3 separate regions of the Homo sapiens genome follow, and all the other regions are linked to region 1. The links are contacts of gene promoters, found by promoter capture Hi-C in blood cells and fetal thymus (Javierre and others, 2016). All regions are on one chromosome and are shown on one strand. Each heading gives the region's core, a stretch centred on a gene start or on the middle of the fragment in contact. The rest is flanking DNA. Distances are from core to core; before and after follow the strand shown.

The links. Contacts are between HindIII fragments. The CHiCAGO score rates a contact against its expected background, and 5 or more counts as called.
Region 2: a contact is called between a fragment that was not itself captured here and the fragment with the promoter of MTCL1 in region 1, in 1 of 17 cell types (activated CD4 T cells). The highest score is 5.8, in activated CD4 T cells.
Region 3: a fragment that was not itself captured here is called in contact with the fragment with the promoter of MTCL1 in region 1 in 2 of 17 cell types (activated CD4 T cells and non-activated CD4 T cells); the score reaches 6.5 in activated CD4 T cells.

The regions. Positions count from the first base shown.
Region 1 is chr18:8,702,857-8,707,425 of GRCh38, forward strand. MTCL1 (microtubule crosslinking factor 1) reads left to right here and starts at 2,700. Exons shown (of 15, transcript NM_001395333.1): 1 at 2,700-3,857. The coding sequence starts at 2,805. GACAT2 (gastric cancer associated transcript 2) reads right to left here. Exons shown (of 2, transcript NR_120598.1): 1 at 4,214-4,569. RefSeq lists silencers at 2,045-2,484, 2,865-2,924. The HindIII fragment of the contact is 5,801 bases long and covers 316-4,569 here.
Region 2 is chr18:9,490,648-9,495,216 of GRCh38, forward strand. All of the region lies in intron 1 of RALBP1 (ralA binding protein 1), which reads left to right. Among named protein-coding and RNA genes, the nearest start is that of RALBP1, 17 kb to the left of the region's middle. The HindIII fragment of the contact is 961 bases long and covers 2,185-3,145 here.
Region 3 is chr18:9,338,924-9,343,492 of GRCh38, forward strand. All of the region lies in intron 2 of TWSG1 (twisted gastrulation BMP signaling modulator 1), which reads left to right. Among named protein-coding and RNA genes, the nearest start is that of TWSG1, 6.4 kb to the left of the region's middle. The HindIII fragment of the contact is 3,572 bases long and covers 347-3,918 here.

The DNA.
Region 1 (4,569 bases), core at 1,450-3,949:
GGCTTAAGCCCAGGAAGTTTGACTTCAGTCTGGGCAACATAGCAAGACCCCATCTCTTAAAAAAAAAAAGGAAGAAAAAAGAAAAAAAAAGAGAAAGCATTGATTGAATACTTCCTTACAAAGGGCTAGTAGTCTCATTTGCCAGGCTAATAATAAGTAGTAAGGAGGATGAATTTTATCTGACTTATTACCTGAAAGAAAGAGAAGCTGGCTGCAAATCCTATAGTCATCAAGCTACTGTCTTTAGAAGACTAGCGTATTGAAACTTTTTTGGGGGGCCCTTTCTTTGAGTGTATATGGTATGAGAAGCTGGCAAGCTTGTGCTGAGAGTCCTGGCCATAATTCTTCGGAAATGTGAGGGTGTGGGAGGCTTCAGAGCCTCTGGAGGAAGTTCTAGGCAGAGGTCAGTTGTGCTCTGGCCCGACCGCGGGCCCCCTCCCACGGAAGGGCAGAGCTAGAGGGCCCTCTGGGGACAGCAGGCCCGGCGCGAGCGGTGGCCAACACCTCTCAAGCCTTTCGAGGTGTGCCGTCATCCACGCCCACCGTGGAGCCAACAGTGTCCTTCTCCCAACGCTGGAGAAACGGCTAGGGCATTAGCCTCAAAGGAGATTAAGGAATTGGATTTCGTAGAGATTGGATTTCGTGCGTGCTGTCTCCCATTCAGAGGCATTCCCAGAAAAACGACTCACAAAGACCACAACAGCAGCAGAGCAGGCGAGGTCTCAGTGCCCCCAGAGCTCAGCCAGGGCGAGGCAGGACGACTTCGGGGCAGGGCTCTCCTGACGTAGGGATTACAACAAAAGGGTTCATCCTGCATTTTTTGAAGGAGATGGCTAAGTAGGGTAAATCTGTGGTTAAGATCACAGACTTTGGAGTCGATTTTTTCCTCCTATTTTTGCGAGTCGGCCCCCTCTTCTCTGTCCCTGCTCCCAAGGCCCCCTCACCGCGCATACTGCCACAGCCGCTCGCAGCTCCCGTGGCCCACCTCCCTCTCCTCCAGGTTGCTGCCCCCGGGGTCTTTTTGAGCACATCAGATCATCTTGCTCAGAATACCCCGTGGCTACCGCCTCTAGGATAATGCCCAACGGCCTTGGTAGGATATTTGGTGCCACACACCCTCCAGTCTCCCCTCTAATCCCTAACCTACCTGCCTCCCCGCCCAGGGGCCCTGCTCTCTGCAGGCTCTACTGTGTCCTGGGCCCTCAGCTGAGAGACCAACCCGTCCTTCCAGGAAAATGCGAGCCTCACCAGGCAGGGTTATGCTCCCGCCCTCCTCCTTGTAATTATTACCTGACCCTCTGCCTCCTGCAACGCCAGGGCTGGAGGACAGGCTGGCCCCTATTCCTATGGGCACTGGCCAACATCCAACGCCTGGGACATAAACTGCACCCAATGGTATGTGAACTGTACTTTACAGTTTGCACGGTGTGTTCTGGTATTTGCTAAATCTTCACACATGCTCAGGTGGCAGTACGTTTTAATGATACAGGCGAGGGAACTGGGGCTCAGAAAGGTCTAGTGCCTTGCGCATGGGAGACTCAAGTGGTAGAACCGGTGGCCGGGCTCCGGGCTCTGAGCGGAAAGCCTGCAGGACTCGGAATCCTGAAGACCTGGGTTTAAACCCGCTCAGCTAGGGACTGGGTGAGGCATCGCAGGCAAGTGACTTCACCTCCCAGCGCCGGTGCCCTAGTCTTCACCGAAGACAGCAATTCCAATCTGGGACTGTGGTGAGGCTTAAATAAAACACTGCTCAGTAAGTGGCCAGCAGGCCTGGCTCGCAGCCGGAACTATAAATGTGAGTTCCCTTTCTGACCCCCAGGTTTGGCGAGGGCTCCTCCTGTTTGGGCAGCAGCTCCTCCTGAGCTCCCGAGGCCACGGGGGTGCCAACTGTGGAGCGCCCGCCGTGCCGTTTAGACGCGAGAGCTGCGTCGGGTACCAGCGATCCTTAAAGGAGCTCGGGGACCAGGGGCACAGCTTGGAGAGGACAGCGAGGGAGGTGACTGGCCTCGGGGAGGCGGGCGGTGGATGGAGAGGCATGAGAGGGGTGTTGTCAGCCGCGGCACACGCCTTCCCCAAGTGGCCGGCGCCGCCCCTTGCCACCACTTCACCTCCGCCTCTTCCCTTCCTCCCTAGCTCCTGGCAGCGTCTCTAGGGCCTCAAAAAGCAAGGAGGGTCCCCGGGCAGCGAGGCCCCATGGATCCAGCCTGCGCCTGCTCCCAAGGGCGCGCAGGTCCCGCCCCTGCCGGGCGCCCGCCCCCCGGGGAGCGCAAGCCCCCGCCCCTTCCCTCGCCCCTCCCCTGCACGGCGCCGGCTGGCTGGAGGCGGGGCATGCGCACGGGCCTGGGCGAGGGCGCTGGGCGGCGGGGAGGTGGGGCGCGCGCGTGCGGCTTCTCTCAGCCGGGAGCGGCGGGGGCGGGCACGGGCAGCAGCGGGCCGGCGGTGGGCGGGGAGCGGGACGCGGGAGCCGGGCGCGCGCCGCCAGCGCCGCCGCGGCACCGGTGACCGCGAGCCCGGAGCGCGAGGTCCGGGGATGCGAGCGGCCGGGAGCCGCCGCGCTGCTGAGCCGGGAGAACTCGATCCGCGGTGACCTCAGCGAGGGGCGAGCGCGGCGGCGGCGAGCCCCGCGGGAATCCTCGGGGCCGGGGTGCGGGGGGCGGGGACGGCGGGAGCGCGGGGCGCAGCCCGGGCGGGGCTGGGACAGTGATGAGAGAGCGCGCGGGGAGGCTGCACGCCGCCGCCGCCGCCGCCGCCGCCGTCGTCGTCCGGAGCATCTGCTGCCTGAGCTGCTGCCGGCGGACCCGGCCATGGAGACACTGAACGGCCCCGCGGGCGGAGGTGCCCCGGACGCGAAGCTGCAGCCGCCCGGCCAGCACCACCGCCACCACCACCTCCACCCGGTGGCCGAAAGGCGGCGGCTGCACCGTGCGCCCTCGCCCGCCAGACCCTTCCTCAAGGACCTGCACGCCCGGCCCGCCGCGCCCGGCCCGGCCGTCCCCTCCTCGGGCCGAGCCCCGGCTCCCGCCGCCCCGCGCTCGCCCAACCTCGCGGGCAAAGCGCCGCCCTCGCCGGGGTCCCTGGCCGCGCCCGGCCGCCTCTCTCGGCGCAGTGGCGGCGTCCCGGGCGCGAAGGACAAGCCCCCGCCGGGCGCCGGGGCCAGAGCGGCGGGCGGTGCCAAGGCTGCCCTGGGAAGCAGGAGGGCGGCGCGCGTGGCGCCCGCGGAGCCGCTGTCCCGGGCTGGGAAGCCTCCCGGAGCCGAGCCGCCGTCTGCCGCTGCCAAGGGCCGCAAAGCCAAGCGCGGCTCCCGGGCGCCACCCGCCCGCACCGTCGGCCCCCCGACCCCGGCCGCCCGGATCCCTGCCGTGACCCTCGCGGTGACCTCGGTGGCCGGGTCCCCGGCCCGCTGCTCGCGCATCAGCCACACGGACAGCAGCTCCGACCTCTCTGACTGCCCCTCCGAACCCCTGTCCGACGAGCAGCGCCTGCTCCCTGCCGCCAGCAGCGACGCCGAATCCGGCACGGGCTCCAGCGACCGTGAACCCCCACGAGGAGCGCCGACGCCGAGCCCCGCAGCCCGAGGAGCGCCGCCGGGCAGCCCCGAGCCCCCAGCGCTCCTCGCCGCGCCCCTCGCCGCGGGCGCCTGTCCCGGGGGCCGGAGCATCCCGAGCGGGGTTTCGGGGGGTTTCGCGGGGCCCGGCGTGGCGGAGGATGTCCGGGGGCGCTCGCCACCGGAGCGACCAGTCCCCGGGACCCCCAAGGAGCCCAGCCTGGGCGAGCAGTCTCGGCTCGTGCCAGCGGCGGAGGAAGAAGAGCTGCTGCGGGAGATGGAGGAGCTGCGCTCGGAGAACGACTATCTCAAGGTGAGCCGCGCCTCGGCCGCAGGTGTCCCGGGGCGCCCCCGGAGGGCCTGGCTGCGGCGGGGACCCGCCAACCCCTCCTTCCCGGGCCTGTCCAGCGCCTTCTCCCTCCTGCTCTCCACGGTCCTACCCCCGCATTGTCAGGCATTGGCAACTTAAGCCCAAACTTCTGGAAGGAGAAGCAAGACCTGTGGGACCCCGCCAGTTCGCAACCCACTTCTCTTTTCTCGCGTCTAGAACTCTTGCGTCTCTTCGCTGATACTTTTACTTTTGTTGACCTGTTGGGGCAGAGGAGGCTGTAATCGTTTTGGGGACATCAGCGGACGCCCCCATCCCCGCTCAGAACGTGCCAGCCTCACCTGTAGGAACAGGTGATCCTTCGCCAGGGAGCTCTAGCCGGGCCACGTGCGGGCGTGGCGGTTCAGGATAATGCCACTGGAGGGCCCCCGGCTACGGACCCGCTTGCCCCTTCTCCTGCAATTACGGAAAGAGCTGGGGGCTCTCAGGGTCTCCTGGGCTCCGACATCCCGGGTAGAGGGGGCCGCGCCGTTTTCGGTGAGCAAGCTGAAGCTCAGTAGAGGTCCTTGGAGTGTGGCCCGGGTTGAGGAGCAACGGTGTTGCGCGGGCCAGTCCTTTGTAAGCATCCAGGAGCCGGCTTTCTGTGTCAGGAGAGGCCACGCCAGCACTTTCTAAGGAATCGCGGCGCCTGCTGCAC
Region 2 (4,569 bases), core at 1,415-3,914, 790 kb after region 1:
CTATTTTCCATTTCTTTCCTCTAAAATGTTACCTTGTGATAGGGCTTGGCTGTGTCCCCACCCAAATCTCAAGTTGAATTGTGTCTCCCAGAATTCCATGTTTTGGGAGTGACCCAGAGGGAGGTAACTGAATCATGGGAGCCAGTCTTTCCCATGCTATTCTCCTGATAGTGAATAAGTCTCTTGAGATCTGATGGGTTTATCAGGGATTTCCACTTTGGCTTCTTCCTCATTTTCTCTTGCCACTACCATGTAAAAAGAGCCTTTAGCCTCCCGCCATAACTCTGAGGCTTCCCCAGCCATGTGGAGCCATAAGTTCAATTAAACCTTTTTTTGTTCCCAACTTCTGGTATGTCTTTATCAGCAGCATAAAAACGAACCAATACACCTTAACTGAAATCTTCATGGGGTGGTGGTTCTTACTTACCCAACCAAGATAATTGACCACTTTATAACTTTTGAGCAGCTCTCTACATTTAAATGTTTACAGATCACCTATTAAGGAAACTTCTACTTAGAATTGTCAGCTGAGGATTTTCTCTAACTATCGTGGGTGATATTAGACCTACTTGTTATTCTATATCAGTAGTTAATAATCTAAGGTAATTTTTTCCTCAATCTCATTTTTAGGAAATTTTTTTGAAGAAAATTATAAAAATTAATATATATATTTTCAAAAATTTAAGTAGGACCCAAATGGAGCCCTTTGTCCCCCCAAGTCCTCTGGTACCACATCCCATACATTAACCCAGATGTCATATCATTTCATCCAGGTATATTTTAGTGTGTATCTCTAACCACAACACAGTGATCACACTAACAAAAATTAACAATTGTTTCTTAATATAAAATATTGAATTAATATTCAGATTTCTCTGATTTTCATAACTTTTTTTCCTAACTATTTTTTCACTTCTTTTCTTTTTTGAGACAGAGTTTGTCTCTGTCACCCAGGCTGGAGTGCAGTGGTACGATCTTGGCTCACTGCAGCCTCTGCCTCCTGGGCTCAGGCGATTCTCCTGCCTCAGCCTCCTGAGTAGCTGGGATTACAGGTGCACGCCATCATGCCCAGCTAGTTTTTGTATTTTTAGTAGAGACGAGGTTTTGCTATGTTGGCCAGGCTGGTCTCAAACTCCTGACCTCAGGTAATCTGCCTGCTTTGGCCTTCCAAAGTGGTGGGATTACAGGTGTGAGCCACCATGACCGGCCCCTAACAATTTTTTCAAATCAAAATCCAAATAAGCTCTATACATGGCAATTGGTTGATGTCTTTTAAGTCTTTCTTTTTTTTCAAGGTAATGTGTCATTTTTTTGTAGTATTTTTGTGTTTCTTAACCTTTTACAAAAATAGACTTTATTTTTAAAGCTGCGTTTGTGTTAGAGTTCGCTCCTGGTATGCTGTACATTCCGTGTGTTTAGACAAATGAATAATGAACATGTGTCCACCACTAAAGTACCAATACAGAATAGCTTCACTGCCCCAACAATCCTCTGTGTTCCACCTATTCATTTCTTCCTCCTCCCTAAACCCTGGCTACTACTAATCCTTCTACTGTCTCTATAGTTTTGCTTTTTGCAGAATGTCATATGGCCTTTTTAATTAACGTCTTTTTTTTTGAGACAAGGTCTTGCTTTGTCGTGCAGGTTGGGGTGAAGCGCTGGGATCTCAGCTCACTGCTGAGCCTCTACCTGCTAGGCTCAGGTGATCCTCCCATCTCAGCCTCCCAAGTAGCTGGGACTACAGGTGTGCACCACCACACCCAGCTAATTTTTTCTTTTTTTTTTTTGGGTAGAGATGAGGTTTTGCCATGTTGCCCAGGCTGTTCTCTGACTGCTGTGCTTAAGCAGTCCGCCCACCTTGGTCTCCAAAAGTGCTGGGATCGCAGTTGTCAGCCACTGTGCTCAACTTCTTTTACTTAGTAATATGCATTTACATTTCCTCTGTATCTTTTCATGACTTGATAGCTCATCTCTTTTTAGCACTAAATAATATTCCATTATCTGGATATACCACAGTTTATCCATTGCTGCCTTTTTTGGGGGGATTTATAATATACCTGCTATAAACATCTATGTGCCGGTTTTTGCATGTACATAAGTTCTCAATTCATTTGGGTAAATACCAAGGAGTGCGATTGATGGATCATATAGGAAGAGTATGTTTAGTTTTGTAAGAAACTGCCAAGCTTTCTTCCAAAGTGGCTGTGCCATATTGCATTCCTATCAGCCATGGATAAAAGTTCCTGTTGCTCTATATCCTTGCCAGCATTTGGTGGTGGTAGCATTTTGGGTTTTGCCATAATAATGGTATGTGGTAGTATCACATTGTTTTAATTGGTAGTTCTCCAATGATATAGCATGCTGAGCATCTTCTCATGTGCTTATTTTCCATTTACATATCTTTGGTGAGGTGCCTGTTCAGGTCTTTTGCCCATTTAAACAAAATGAATTGTTTTCTTACTGTTTAGTTTAAAGAGTTTTTTTTTTTTTTTTTTTTTTTTGAGACAAAATTCCCCCAGGCTGGAGTGCAATGGCACTATCTTGGCTCACTGCAACCTCTGCCTCCCAGGTTCAAGCGATTCTCCTGCCTCAGCCTCCCGATTAGCTGGGATTACAGGCGCCTGCCACCATTCTCGGCTAATTTTTGTGTTTTTAGTAGAGACGGGATTTTCATGTTGGCCAGGCTGGTCTCGAACTCCTGACTTCAGGTGATCCGCCTGCCTTGGCCTCCCAAAGTGCTGGGATTACAGGCATGAGCCACCGCACCTGGCCTAAAGAGTTCTGTGTATATTTTTGGGTAATAGTACTTTATTGGATATATTTTCTATAAGTATTTTATTTCAATGTGGCTTGTCTTTTCAATCTTTCAGTCTTAAGACTCTTAATTTTTATGTTCACCCTCCCTCTCTTTTTTTTTTCCAGAGCATTAACTAAAGAAACTAAATTGTATATCCTATAGATTTTGCAGCTTGATCTGTGTGATATGAGATATATAGATCTATCTGTTTATCTATCTGTCCATATATGTTTTCATCCAGAATTCCTGGCTCATAACTCCCATAGCCCCTGTTATTTCTTAAGTGACTTAAACAATAAGCATATCTTTTGTTAAAGTATTTTGCCTTTTGTCTTTGGTTCCTGAAGAAGCTTTGAAACAGCTTCTGAGCAATAAAGGTGAAAGACAGTCTTTTGTTATAATGTTGGAGTACTTTAGATCTCAGAAGTAGGCCTCAGAAGACAGATCTCTCTCTCTCTGGCCTTCTCCTGGTCTTTGTTCACTTGCTCATTTTTCTCCCCAAGGCAGGCCATAGAAACTAAAAACATGCTCTAATCTTCCCCCGGCTTTCTGTCCACAAGCTGGCCATAAAGGAATTCTCTGACTTACATTGTCTGATTTTAGGTCATAAGACCCCCATTTCAAAATGGATCTTGTCCCATACCATGGAGGAAGCAATGCTGCACAGAGAGGCCAAGAAGAATCTGAACAAAACAGGCCTTACTGGGTTTCCCCACTCAATCTATTAGTATTAGATTATACCCTTTTTGTTCAGTCGCATTTCTGCATGTTTGTCCATACTTCAACATGCCTATCCAATGAAGTCTCCATCAAAAATTTAAGAAGATGGGGTTCCGAGAGCTTTTTGATTGCAGAACAGGTAGAAGTTCCTGGAGGTTAGTGTAGCCAGAGAGGGCACGGAAGCTCTGCACTCCTTCCTACATGCCTTGCCCTGTGCATCTCTTCATCTATACCCTTTGTGTATCCTTTATAATAAACTGAACATAAGTGTAAACCTAAGTGTATTCCTAGGTTCTGTGAGCTGCTCTAGGAAATTAATCAAACCCAAGGCAGGGGTCATGGGAACCATGATTTATAGCTGGTCCCATCAGAAGTGTTACTGGAAAGATGTCCTGATCAGAACCCAGGATAGGGTTTTTAGACCTCACCCAAGAAGGAATTTGAGGAGAGTCCTTAAAGTGAAAGCATTAGTTTATTAAGAAAGTAAAGAAAGAAATGAATCGCTACTCCATAGGCAGAGCAGCAGCATGGGCTGCTCGACTGAATATACTTATAGTTATTTCCTGATTATGTGCTAAAGAACGGTTAGATTATTCATGAATTTTCCAGAAAAGGAATGGGTAATTCCTGAAACTGAGGGTTCATCCCCTTTTTCGACCATATAGGGTAACTTCCTGATGTTGCCATGGCATTTGTAAACTGTCATGATGCTGGTGGGAGTGTCTTTTAGCGTGCTAATGCATTACAGTTAGCCTATAGTGAGCAGTGAGGATGAGCAGAGGTCACTTTCATAACCATCTTAGTTTCGGTGGGATCTGGCCGGCTTCTTAACCACATCCTGTTTTATCAGCAAGGTCTTTGTGACCCATATCTTGTGTTGACCTCCAATCTCATCCTGTGATTAAGGATGCCTAACCTCCTGAGAATGCAGCCCAGTTAATCTCAGCCTTATTTTACCCAGCCCCTATTCAAGATGGAGTTGCTCTGGTTCAAATATCTCTGACGGAAGCACAGGTAAAACAGCCTAGGGCTTGCAATTGGCGTCAGAAGTT
Region 3 (4,569 bases), core at 883-3,382, 640 kb after region 1:
ACAGTGGCTCATGCCTCGTAATCCCAGCACTTTGAGAGATTGAGGCAGGAGGATCACTTGAGCCCAGGAGTTTCAGACCAGCCTGGGAATCACAGTGAGACCCTGTCTCTACAACAAATAGTTTTTTTAAAATTAGCTGGGCATGATCATGTACACCTGTAGTCTCAGCTACTTGGGAGGCTGAGGCAGGAGGATCATTTGAGCCCAGGAGGTTGAGGCTGCAGTGAGCTATGATTGTGCCACTGCACTGAAGCCTGGGTGACAGAGCAAGACCCTGTCTCAAAAAAAAAAAAAATTGTACTTTATTTAAAATACCTTGCTTTTAAAGGGAGTATTTAAAAGAGAAAGCTTTTGATTAATATGGGTAGATACTTGTAAAGGTTTTTTTGTTTGTTTGACTCTTTAAAAATTTTTTGGCTCTATTACAGCTTACTACAGCCTTGACTTCCCAGGCTCCAGCGATCCTCCCATCTCAGCCTCTGGTGTAGCTGGGACTACAGGCACGTGGCACCATGCCTGGCTAATTTACTTTGTATTTTTGGTAGAGACAGGGTTTTGCCATGTTGCCAAGGCTGGTCTCAAACTTCTGAGCTCAAGCGATCTGCCAAGGCTGGTCTCAACCTTCTGAGCTCAAGCAATCTGCCACCTCGGCCTCCCAAGTGCTGGGATTACAGGTGTGAGTCACCGTGCCTGGCCATTAAAAAAATTTAAAAAATTACAATTACAAAAATTAGCTGAGCATGGCGGTGCATGCTTGTAATCCCAGCTACTTGGGAGGCTGAGGCAGGAGAATCACTTGAACCCAGGAGGCGGAGGTTGCAGTGAGCTGAGATCGTGCGACTGCACTCCCACCTGGGCGACAGAGCAAGACTCTGTCTCAAAAAAAAAAATTGTAAAAAAACAAAATACTTCAAAATGTAAAGAGTACTATATCAGTGTAAAAAAACTGGAAAAGCAAATGGAGCTTCACCTAACTCAAATGGTGATTCTAGTAAACAAAATCAGCTAGGACGTATTTTCAGTCACAAATTCATGGATGCTGACATTTCTGATATTCCGTTGTAGCTTCAGAGCCAGGAAACATCAAACTTTTTTCTGGAGTAGTGGACACAACTATCCTGGTGGATGGTAGACTACTTGGATTTAGAAAAGATCTAGGGCTGGGCCGGGCGCGGTGGCTCAAGCCTGTAATCCCAGCACTTCAGAAGGCCGAGGCGGGCGGATCACAAGGTCAGGAGATCAAGACCATCCTGGCTAACATGGTGAAACCCCGTCTCTACTAAAAATACGAAAAATTAGCCAGGCGTGGTGATGGGCGCCTGTAGTCCCAGCTACTCGGGAGGCTGAGGCAGGAGAATGGCGTGAACCCAGGAGGCGGAGCTTGCAGTGAGCCAAGATCATGCCACTGCACTCCAGCCTGGGCGACAGAGCAAGACTCCATTTCAAAAAAAAAAAAAAAAAAAAAAAGAAAAGATCTAGGGCTCAAATATTGAGGATTTTCTTGTTTGTTTATTCACAAACATTTATTGAGTGTTGAAATGAAATGTGATTAGTTCCACTCTTCACCTAGTTTTGTGGACTCCCAAACTCTAGCAGATTATTTCACATTCTGATCTTTAGTTTCCATGTGTTCCTCTTACTATGGCTGTGTGGCAAACCACCCCAAAAACCAGTGGCTGGAAACAGCATTTATTTTGCTCACGAATTTGCATTCTGAGCAGGGCTCTGCGGAAGAGTTCATCTCTGTTCCACGTGGCATTAGCAAGGCGGCTTGAAGGTGGTGGGGGTGGAATTATCTGAAACAGCACTATAGATAGAGCTTTCTGCGATGATGGAAAAGATCTACATCTACCCTGTGCAATACAGTAGAATCTAGCCATACGTGGCTACCAAGTACTTGAAATGTGACTAGTATGGCTGAAAATCTGATTTTAAATTTAATTCAATTTCAATTTCATTAGCTGCATAGCTGCATATGACTAGTGGCCACGTATTGGACATTGAAAATCTGAAGGCTCACTGATAAAGTCTAATACCTGGGCTGGGAAGATTCTTCAGGTATACGTCTCTTCCTGACTTCTCCTCCCCTTCCTCCCTTCTCTATCCCCATCTCCCTCCCTCTCTCCCTTTCACTCTCTCTGTGTATATATGTGTGTGTCTCTGTGATCCTGCTATATGATCTCTCCTGCAGGTCCACCTGGATTTAAGTGGAGGGAACATAGGCCCCACCTCTGTTGGAGGAGTGACAGTGTCATGTTGTAAGCTGAACATGTGGATGGGATATAATGGTGTGGCCATCTGTGGAAAATACACTCTGCCACATATAAACTGTAAAGTGAATTGGCTGGCTAGGTGAGCTCAAAATTTTCTTCTAGTTCTAGGCAGTTTTAAAGAAAGAAACCAACTAGTATGTGTCAAATGTTCTCTTTTTTTCATCAGAGTAATAAATTATTAAATTATTAGAAGGCTACATAGTGAAAAATTGAATCTCTTGATCTAATTCTCCCTACTCATTCTATTACCCTGGGAAAACCGCTTTTAATCTAACTCTTATATTTTTACTTCTGTTAGTAATTTTTAGCCATATGCCTAAATAATATGCTTGTACTACTATTTCTTGATTCATCAGTTTTAGATGTTATATATCTAAAATTGCCTTTCTGCTATAACAGATAAGGTCATAGCTCATCATGTCATCCTTCCCACTCCTGCCCTGCCACACTTGTATCACAGTTTTGAGTTTATCTCTTGGTTATTTTTTCAATTTCTTCAATATATTTAAGGTTTTCTATTCTGTTCTATCAACTGGAGACACTATCTCTTTATTCCTGATGTAAGTGGAGAATATTAATAGTCCTTTCCTTTTAAAGTTTATTTTATTTTATTATTTTTTTTTTTTAGCAATGAGACAGACTATAAGTGAGTTTTAAGAACAGTGCATTTCTTGAGGGAATTGAAGAGAGGGTTTGTTTGGGTTCCAGTCTTGGGAGATCATGTGAAGCTACCATGTTTAACATCATAGAAAGCAAAGAAATCAGTTTTTTCCCTTGCATTTATGAGTACTGCCCTTGAAATTTTCTACTTTTGGCATTCTGATGGGCTACTTTTGGAATTCTGATGGGCTGCATCAAAATCTGTGGGGAACGGAGTGTTACCTGTACTTTTACTTTTATATTGTCAAGGTTGATAACATCTACATTCTGAGAGGCTGCATAGTATAATGGTTAAGCGTATGAACTCTGGAACCAGGCTATCTGAATTTGGATCCAGTTCTGCCACTTACTGGTTGTATGACCTTGGGCAAGTTAGTTAATCTCTCAATGCCTCAATTTCCTCATCTGTAAAGCAGGGATAATAACCATACTGTGCGAGTATTGTGAGGATTAGGTGTAAAGTATTTAGAGCAATGCCTGGCACGTGAGTGCACTATAGGTAATTACTAACCTTATTTCTCTGTTTTGTAACTCTATTTGAATCTTCTAATGCTTTATTTACAGGTATATTCTAAAACTGGCAATAAACCATGTTTATATTGTAATGATTATATAAATATTGTTGACTGTTGACTGTAGTCACATAGGTACTATGATTACATTTCCCTTCTTGAATGATTTTGTTTTTCTTGAGTTTCTAATTATCTTTCTTTACCTTGTATCATCAATCATTAGCACCTTATATTGTTTTAAGTACTTAATGTATTTTTCCTCCCAAATGGAGCCTTCAGTCTTGATGTTTCCAGACTTAACTGATTGCAATCTAGGTCTGATGCAAGCTGTCTTATGGTGACTTTCCATCATTACTTTCCCAAGTTGGTTCCAGTGTTTCTTGGATTTCGTATCTTGTTGTTTTTAACAGTAACCCTTATTTTGTCCCAACATGCCCTCAAGTAACTTCCTAAGAAAGCCTGTGTGGAAAGTAAGCTTTCTGGGTCCTGCATGTCTTGAAGATGTATTTATTCTCACCTTTCACCTGACTGATGGTTTGCCTGAATACAGAATTCTATGTTAAATTCTTTTCCCTCAGAACTTTGGAGACATTTCTCTATTATCTAATAGCATTCCATATTGCCAATAAGAAGTCTGATGCCAGTCTGTTTCTTATTCTCTATAGGTAACTTTGTTATTCTCTCTAGAAACTTTTAGTATCATCTCATTAGCCTTCATATTATGGAATTTAAACTGTTGAGTCTAGTGTTGGTCTTTTCATTCATTCTGTTTGGTATCTTGTGAGTCTTTTGGGGATCAGTTTTGAGCCAAAGACTAGGAAATGCCCTGTTTTGTTTTTTGTTATATATATATATATATATATATATATATATATATATATATATATATATATCTTGTCCTAACATACATACATATATAATATATACGTTTTATATAACTATATTTTTGTATAATATATAATTATGTATAGTGTCCTCTTTTCTTTCTGGAACTCTTATTAGTATAAATCTAAGATGGATTCTCTGTTAGATTTTTTTTAAAAAACAGTTTTATTGAGATATATGATTCATATATTATAAAATTTACCCATTTAAGGGTACAATTGAGTGGTTTTGGCATATCG